2 separate regions of the Homo sapiens genome follow, and region 1 is linked to region 2. Evidence: promoter capture Hi-C in human tissues and cell types (Jung and others, 2019). All regions are on one chromosome and are shown on one strand. The core of a region is centred on a gene start or on the middle of the fragment in contact, and the rest is flanking DNA. Distances in the headings are between cores, read along the strand shown. Region 1 has its middle 500 kb from the start of SNORD151. Region 2 holds the start of IGFBP3 (insulin like growth factor binding protein 3).

Region 1 (4,743 bases), core at 670-3,169, 1.0 Mb after region 2:
AGAAGTTCAAGGGAATTTCTAGGTGATGGCATTGAAAATAGCAGAGTAAGAAACTGAAAAAAAATGACTCTTAAAAAGTAACAAAAATACTGGCAAAAGTGTCAGTCAAATTTTAGTAACTTTGGAAACTAACTAAAACTTCAGAAACCAGAGGAACCCTTATTTAAGAAACATGGATCTTATTTCAGTAAAAACATTGAGCTTTGTGATAATTTAACTTCTCCTACTCTCAGCCTCCACTCCCCAGCTTAGCAGTAGCTTTGAAAATTACAGTCTGCATTCACAGCACCAGTACTAGAGAGGGCAGAATTAATTTCAGTCACAAATGATTGTAATTGTTGGCCAATCATGTGGCTCAGGTTTGTAATCCTAGCACTCTGGAGAACTAGGTGGGAGGATCTCTCGTGTCTGGGAAGTCAAGACTGCAATGAGCTATGTTTGTGTCTCGGCACTCTAGCCTGGGTGACCAGAGTGAAACCACGTCTCAAAATAAAATAAGATAAAATAAATTATAATTGTCTGGTAGCTTCCTGGAAAACTAGCACAAAAGGCTCAACTTGATCTTGCCTAACTCAGAGCTCACCCAGTGCTGTAACTGTTACTTAAGGAATATTTTTTCAAAATTTTACCAAAAAAAAAACTTATGTTTTGGTTGTTTTTCCTAAGGCAATGGATAAAAATTGAGAAAAAAAACAATATTTTAAAAATTTGGAAGTAAGGGTTGGGGAATAAAATGGTTTGAAAAATAAGAGCTTTGAAAAGCTCTATATATTTTATATACATATATATAAATCTAGAAGGCCACATACATGCCTAGAGCTGTGCACTTGCCCAGGAGAGACCTGAGAAGACTCTAATCTGTCATCTCTGCTGACCTTTGGGCTGTAAAAGCAGGAAGTTAAGCCTAAAGCATGGTTGTAGTCTTCTTGAGTACGGGCTGAGGGCATGCCCACTGTACACATAAAGCCCCTCTGCAAAGAATATGATAAGTTTTTGGTTTAGTTTTTGTTTTGGCATCAAAATAACTTTTGCTCAATAATTAGTTGACCACTAAGCTACTGTAACAGAGACTTTAGTGGTCACACACAACAAAGACACAGTCTATACAAAATTACTTCAGAGAAGTCATGAAACAAACAAGCAGAAAAATAATAATTATAATAAGCAGCAACAACAAATTCTTATGAAAAAAAACAAGGAACCTGATTGTCAGAATTTCCTCCTTATATTATACAAAATATGCTGGTTTTTAACAAAATATTACAAGACATGCAAGGAAATAAGAAACATAAACAGAAAAACATCTATTAATATACATTGCCCCTCAAAGGACATGAATAACCACTTTTCAAAAAAAGATATACAAGCAGCCAACAAATGTGAAAAAATGCTCAACATTACCAATCATGAGAGAGATGAAAATCAAAACCACAATGAAATACCATCTGACACCAATCAGAATGGCTATTATTAAAAAGTCAAAAAATGGCCAGGAATGGTGGCTCACACCTGTAATCCCAGCACTTTGGGAGGCCAAGGCAGGCGGATCATGAGGTCAGGAGATCGAGACCATCCTGGCTAACACAGTGAAACCCCGTCTCTACTAAAAATACAAAAAAATTAGCCAAGCATGGTGGCGGGCACCTGTAGTCCCAGCTACTCGTGAGGCTGAGGCAGGAGAATGGCGTGAACCCGGGAGGCGGAGCTTGCAGTGAGCTGAGATTGCGCCACTGCACTCCAGCCTGGGTGACAGAGTAAGACTATCAAAAAAAAAAAAAAAGGTCAAAAAATAACAGATATTGACAAGGTTTGGGAAAAAAGAGAGTGCTTATTAGTTGAAAAGATAATGCTACACTGCTGGTGGGAATGCAAATTAGTTCAGCCCCTGTAGAGTTTTCAAAAATCTCTGAGGAGATTTCTCAAAGAACTAAAAATGAATTACCATTCACTATCAATTCCATTACCGGGTATATATCTGAAGGAAAATAAATTGTTCTACCAAAAAGACACCTGCACTTGTATGTTCATCACAGCACTGTTCGCAATAGCAAAAACACACAATCAACCCAGGTGCCCATCAACGGTGGACTGGATAAAGAAAGTGTACATATATATCATGGAATACTAGGCAGACATAAAAATAATGAAATCATGTCCTTTGTAGCAAGGTGGATGCAGCTGGAAGCCATTATCCTAAGCAAATTAACACAGAAACAGAAAACCAAATAATACATGTTCTCACTTATAAATGGGAACTAAACTTTGAGTACACAAGGACACAATGATGAGAACAAAAAACACTGGAGATTCCAAAAGTAGGGAGGGAAGGGGGAAGGTGGCAAGGATTGAAAAATTACCCATCAGGTACTATGTTCACTACTTGGGTGATAGGATCACTAAAAGCCCAAGCCTCAGTGTCATGCAATTTACCCATCACAAACCTGCACATGTACCTCCTCAGTCTAGAAAAAAATTAATAGAAATTGTCTCTGAGGAAGACCAGAGAGTGAATTTACTAGACAAAGACTTAAAGTCAGCTAATTTAAATATGTTCAATGTACTAAAAAGAAAATATGTCTGAAAACATGTCTAAAAACCTACACTATAAAATCCTTTCTCACCAAAAAGGAGTTATATCAATAAGGAGATATAAATATTACAGAAATTTCTATATTTTACAAATAGAAAGAGATAGCAATTATAAAAAGGACCAGACTACAGATCTTAAGAATAACTGAAAAGGAAAATTCACTAGAGGGGTTCAACAGCAGATAAGAGAAGACAAAAAGAACCAGTAAATTTGGAGATAGGGCAAAGAAAATTTTCTAGTCTGGAGAACAGAAAAAAAAATTGAACAGAGCCTAAAGGACTTGTAGAAAACCACTAAGCATACCAACATATGCATAATGGAAGTTCCAGAATCAAAGAAAAGAATAAAAGGTGCAACAAGAATACTTAAAAAAAATTGTCAAAAAAAATTCCTAAATTTGATGAAATGCACTAATCTACACATCCAAGGAGCTTAAAAACTATAGGTAGTACCAAATGAAGAAGATCCACACATCATAAACTGACAAAAACCAAAGACAGAAATGACACAGCACATACAAGGGATTCTCCCAAAATTAACAGCTGATTTCTCATTTGAAAACTATGAAGACCAGAAGATAATAGGATGACATATTCAAAGTGCTGTGGGGAAAAAAAAAAAACTGTCAGGTAAGCTTGTTATATTCAGAAAAAAAAAACTATCCTTCAAAAATTAAAGAGAAATAAAGACATTTCCAGAATAATAAAATACAATAAAGTTCATTGCTAGCAGAACTGTATGAAAAGAAACACTAATGGGAGAGAGAAAGAAATGGCACACAGTGGGAGGCATGAGTCTGTGGACATTTTTGGAATGTTTTGGTTCTGTTTTGTTTTAAAACTGGGCAATACTGTGTTCAGTTCAAGCAGAGAAGAAAAATATATATCAATGCTTTTCAATAAAATACAGTGACTACCTGTAAAAAAAAAAAAAAGGAAAAAGAAACATTAAAGGACATTCTTTAGGATGAAATGAAAGGATAGCAGACATTAACTTAAAGTCACACAAAGAAGTGATAAACACTGGCAAAGATCACTATGAAAAATCAAACTATGTCCTATTTAAAACAAACTCATTTTAGACACAATAGGTTAAAAGTACAATGATAGAAAAAGATATTTCATACAATTACCAAAAGAGGTAACATAGACATTAGACATAATTTTCCAGAGTGACAAAGAAAAATATTTTATAATGGAAAAAACTGATTCATCAAGAAGATATAATGATTATAAACATATATAAACCAAATAGCAATACGCTACTATGCATGAAGCAAAACTAATGGAATTGAAGGGAGAAATAGTCATATAGTAATAGTTGGAGACTTCAATACACAACTCTCAATAATAGATAAAACAACCGGACAGAAGATCAATAAGAAGATAGAGCATTTAACAACACTATCAATCAACTGAACCTAACAGACATCTATGGAACACTCCACCAAGCAAAATCACATATGCATGCACATGGAACATTCTCTGGGATAGACTATATGTTACACCACAACACAAGTCTCACTAAATTTTAAAAGATTGAAATCACACAAAGCATCTTTTCTGACCAGAATAAAATGAAATTGGAAATCAATAACAGAAGGCAATATGGGATATTTTAAAATATTTGAAAATAAGATAATCCACCCCTAAATAATCAATGAACCAAAGAAGAAATCACAAGAAACTCATGGGATACAGTGAAGGCAGTACACAAAGGAAAATTTACATCTGTAAATGCCTACATTAAAAAGGTAAGATCTCAAATCACTAACCTAACCATTCACCTTAAAAAAGTAGAAAAAGAGCAGTAAACTAAGCCCAAAGGGAAAAAAAATCAATAAAATAATAAAGATGAGAGCAGAAATGAGCAAACTAAGTTGTTTGAAATCAATAAAGAAAATCAGTAAAAACAAAAGCTAGTTATCTGAAAAAAATCTACGAAATTGACAAAGCTTTAACTAGACTGATGAAAAATGAGAGACAGAAGAATCAAATTACTAAACCAGAAATGGAAATGGAGATTTTATTATAGACCTTATAAAAATAAAAGAGATTATAGGAGAATTCTATGAACAACTGAATGCCAAAAAATTCAATAACTTACATGAAATAAACAAATTTTTTAAACCATGCAAGTTACCAAAACAGACT
Region 2 (4,785 bases), core at 390-2,889:
GTTGGGGAGTTGGGGGAATTAGGATGGGGAGAATTCTCCCAGCCTTCAGCTGTGCAAGGCAGGAACTTTATTTCTCATATAACTAGGTGAGGCTGGCTAAGAATGCTTGAAAGAACAGCTGCCAAATCCATTTAAACAACCCCCGCTCCTTTTTTTAAGGGAACAATGTGATGCCCTTACCAGAGTCGCTGTCTGCCTGATACTGATAGTGGCTAAGCCAAGAGGGTAACTCTGCCAAATGTTTGCATTTTTCCTCTTCTGGGGCTCCCCTTAACAACATCTCATTCCCCCCCCCATTTCAGATTAAGAAGGGAGACAGCCCTAGGACTGATTCCAATTCCCTTCCGTGTCATTGAAATTGACTTAGTCCACATTGCCCGCACCCACCACGCACCTGGAAGTTTGTTTGAGGTCGGCGCAGGTGCAGGGGTGGCCCGAGTTGTAAGAATGGTATGGTACTGAAAGTGGCACGCGGAGTTCAAACCTACACTCTGTTGTGGCCGCTGGGTAACCTTAAGAAGTTACTTCTTTTTCAGCTTCAGGTTTTCCAACCGCAGAAGATATCAAAACCCGAATCCACTTTACTTGTTTTTGGACATACCGGGACTAGACATTGCTTTGCAAACCAAAAGGCTGTGCAAAGTCAGTATTTTAAAAGAGAGGTACTATTTCCTACAACGTGCCTGCCCACCTTCCTTGGTCCAAATCCGCCTATATCCCCCCCATCCCCAAGCATCCCTGGGATTGCAGTCCGTGTGCACCCCCGTGCGGGGCGAGGAGAATCTCCTGTGTCCAGGATCTTTCCAACAGCTAAACATCGGTACCGCTCCCCTCAGCTCCGGAAACCTTTAACCCATTTTCACTGAAAGCGCTTTGCAATTTACAAGTACTCTGCACTTAGAGAATCGAGCAAGTAGAGGGCCGGCTGGGGAGGGTCCCTCCGGCGACCGCCTTCACCTTTCCCGGAGCGCCTTCAGTTTCCCCACATATTATCTCCAGTGAGAAGAAAAGCGGAGTCTCCCGCAGCGGCACCCAGCAACCCCCAGGCCCTTCGGCGCCAGTGCGCCGGGTGCTGCACGCAGCGCACCTGGCGCGGGCGGCTCACCTGGAGCTGGCGGCGCTGGCAGCAGGTAGGCGCGCAGGCGGCTGACGGCACTAGCGTTGACGCAGAGCCCGCGGCCGTCCAGCAGCGCCTGCAGCGGTCGCGCCTCGTCGGGCGACGGCTGGCAGCGAAGGCCGGAGCCACAGCGCTCGGTGTAGATGCCGCACGGCTGGCCCTCGCTCAGTGCGCACGTCAGGCAGCAGCCGCAGCCCGGCTCGCGCACCAGCTCCGCGCACACGGCGGGCGGAGGCGCGCACTGGGCCAGTGCACGCGCGTCGCACGGCTCGCAGCGCACCACGGGACCCAAGCCCGCCGAGCTCGCGCCAGCCCGCGCCACCGGCGGCCCGCGGAGCAGCACCAGCAGAGTCAGCGCAGCGGCCCAGAGCGTGGGTCGCGCCCGCTGCATGACGCCTGCAACCGGGGCACGCTGCTTGGCAGGCTGGGCGCGCAGGGATGGGGCGACAGTACACGGCGCGAAGCTGTGGAATCCAGGCAGGAAGCGGCTGATCCTCAGCGCCCAGCCGCAGTGCTCGCATCTGGGCGGCCCGGGCGCGCCGGCCGCTATATAGAAGCCGGGGTGGCCCAGGACACGCCCCGGAACGGCGCGCCCAGGAGTGGGGGTTGGGAGGGGGGCGGGTCGGCGCAGGCACGGCTGCGGGGGCCCGTGCTTCGCCCTGAGCAGCCGGGGCCGAGCTCGGGGGCGTGCAGCTCGAGACTCGCCCGGGCACCTGCTCCTCGTGCGCACGCCCGGAGCCCGGGTCACCTTGTCGTCTACAAGAACCAAGGTGTGCCCGGCCACCCCGGCACTCCAGGCCACCTCAGCACCCCCGGTCACCCCAGTCACTCCTGGCCAACTCAGCACCCCCGATCTCCTTGACCCCGCCGCCCTTACCCCTTCCGCTCTCGGGGTGAGGTCTCCCTGCGGCGAGCCGGTGTCGGGGAAACTGGCATACAGCGCTCCGCATTCGTGTGTACCTCGTGGAGCTTTCTAAAATTTAATTCCGTTGGCAGGCGAAGTCTTGGGACATTTCTGACTTACATTTGGGTCTCAGGGAGCCAAGGCACTGCGGGGTTTAATTTACACCCGCTGGGCTGTTTATATCCCCAGGGGCCCACAAATACGCATCTGAAGATGCGCCCGGGGCCTTCGCCCCTTTCCAGGCTTACTTCTCAACGCAAGAAGACTCTCACGTGTTGCTACACCGCAAGTCTCCAATTAAGAGTGGACCGGCAAGCGAATGCGTCCTTAAGGCAGGGCTTTTCAAATATTTTAAATGACAACTGTTCTTCTTGTCTTGGGTATTCTCCCTGATTATGTTTTCAAATGGAGTTTACACCCATGACAAAAGAATAATAAAGACAATAAACTGGGCACTGCTGAAACGTAATTAACCAAATAGTCCTTTAATAGGCAATTTTCATTGTCATTTTTTGAAGGCGACTTCGTATTACTGTATTCTCGATGCGTTGGGATTCTAGCTTATCTCTGCAATCTAAACACTTTTCAGTAAAGTTCGGGGGCGCAATTGCGCGCTGAGGTCGCTGTAACTCCTGTCGGCCTTCTCTGGCACTCGAGTTTCTTCAGTTTTGTCTGCGCACCCCCTCCCTTCGGTGACCAACAGAGGACGCTGGTGGTCCAGGATTGGATTGAGGATTAAATTTTTCAAGGCACTTTTCCAAAGAGTTTGTGGGGGTGGAGTGGGAAGCGGTGAGACCTCCGCGGGAGGAGACTTTCCTGAACGCTGTTGAAATTGGACGCTTGCCTTAGGAGGTGGATAGGTGACTTGAAGGAGCCCTTTGCAGTTTGGAGTAGTAATAGCAAATCAGGAGCTCCTCCATTCCCCTCCAGCACGAAGCCTTGGGTGAAGTTAATCTTCATTCATCATTTCTGTCTCTCCTAATCGATCTCTCGCCCAGTGTCTCTCCTTGTCCCTCTCCCTCCCTTTCTCTCTCTCGTCCTCTCCCCTTTTCCCCCTGTCCACCTCTTCCCCCATATCTATACAGCTTCCTTTTATACATATATACTCTCCTTTTAGAATGGAAAGATCAATTTCGTTCCCTCTTGTACTAAATAAATAAATAATTGGACCTCTACAAATAAAAAGAGACCAAAGACAAGAACAATGGAGTGCCCCGGGGTGACGAAGGCCCAGCACCGTCATTTTCTTATGAGCTCTTCTCCCACAGTGCTCAGGCTGTGGCTACACTCAACCTTGTTTACAGGAAACCGTGCCATAATCGTCGCTTGCTGTTTCCTTTCTCTTGTATCACCTCCTTCTAGTATCTGCGTTGACACCCAAGAACAGGATCTCTGATTTCATTGGAAAATTGAAGGAAACAAAACGAATCCCCCAGGTTTACATCCGTTCCTTAAATACTCGCAGAGACCTTGACTCTGAAATTAGAGCTGGGTTCGGCATCAAATGCAATTCTTGAGGTCCCAGGTCTGCAGTTCTGGTTAGTGCAATGTTGCAGCAGAGCCTGGACTGACCACTGGTTAGTGTAGCACTTTTTATTCAGCTTTATCATCTGGAGAGTGGACAGGGGAAGATCAGAAACAATGTCTTTTTGGAAAGGATTAAAAAATTTGTTTTATTCTTGGTTCTCTTCTTTTTTCCCTCGCATTGCAGTTGGAGAAACTTGTTCAGTGCCGAATGGCTAGGGGGCGCCAAAGCTCCAGGCGTCCAGCCCGGCCTCAGGGACCACGGGACACACGTAAAGACTAAGTCACATTTCAACTTTCAAAGGCTATTCCAATAACAATGTTTTATATAGATTGCCATCACCTTTATCATGACATCTTGCAACAGCAGAGTAAATTTGAGGCAGTGACACGGGGAGAATTGTGTTTTGTTATTTAGCCAGTTTTATTTGATAACTGCAAGCTCCCTGCCCCTCCCGGAACATAATTGTTGCAGGAAGGATTTGGACTGGATAAAACTTAATTTTGTGACATGCTCGTTAATTCTGTTAAACTTCCAATTCATCTGGTGTTTGTAGTTTTTAACATAAACTAGTATTTAGTGAGAAAGATGTTTACCCCCTGTGAAGGTGCTTGGCATACAATTGCTAATCATTGCAAAAGTAGCGAATAACCATCCGAATAGAGGTCAGGAGGCTGCATAGATCTCTTTTCACTAACGGAGTCCAGCTGACCTGATTATAATTAGTGTTTCCTTTGGTCAGCCTCGTTATTTTCACCAGGTGACCTAAACCACTCATTTCTTTGAGCCCACTCCTGCTGCTAAAGGGCACCTTGTCGCTGCGTGATACTGGCTCCTTTGCTTTTCTTCTGCTCAGCCCCCAGCTGGACAAGCCACCCTAGGGTCTCTCTCCTTCTGACAGCACTACTGTTTCTCAGTGTCCTCTGGGGTGTGGCTATCAGTCTTACTGACCACCAATAGACTTAGAACAGAAAGAGCCAAACTTCTAAAGGCAAGCAGTGTTGGGGACCCAGTTGCTAGGACTCAGTGGCTCTCACCCTATAAGCTTCAGGTTTTTTTTCCCCTTTAGGGGACGTATTGGTGGAGACAGGAAATCTAATTTTCTCTCCATCAGATCGCCTGCTGGGTGAGCCTCCCGGAATTACATATACTGGGCTTGGGGATGCATTGGGGACCATCAACTGCCAACATCACGGTGGCTAACAACACTGCAAATGACTTTTACTCACAAATAACATC

What was found. Contacts are between HindIII fragments. The study calls those that stand out against the background at their distance.
Region 1: a contact is called between a fragment that was not itself captured here and the fragment with the promoter of IGFBP3 in region 2, in 1 of the 25 tissues and cell types used here (lymphoblastoid cells).

What each region holds. Positions count from the first base shown.
Region 1 is chr7:46,960,803-46,965,545 of GRCh38, forward strand. No RefSeq gene overlaps it. Among named protein-coding and RNA genes, the nearest start is that of SNORD151, 500 kb to the right of the region's middle. The HindIII fragment of the contact is 3,930 bases long and covers 1-3,884 here.
Region 2 is chr7:45,919,633-45,924,417 of GRCh38, forward strand. It overlaps IGFBP3 (insulin like growth factor binding protein 3), which reads right to left and starts at 1,640. Exons shown (of 5, transcript NM_000598.5): 1 at 1,106-1,640. The coding sequence starts at 1,508. RefSeq lists enhancers at 1,443-2,023, 2,024-2,604. The HindIII fragment of the contact is 8,943 bases long and covers 1-4,785 here.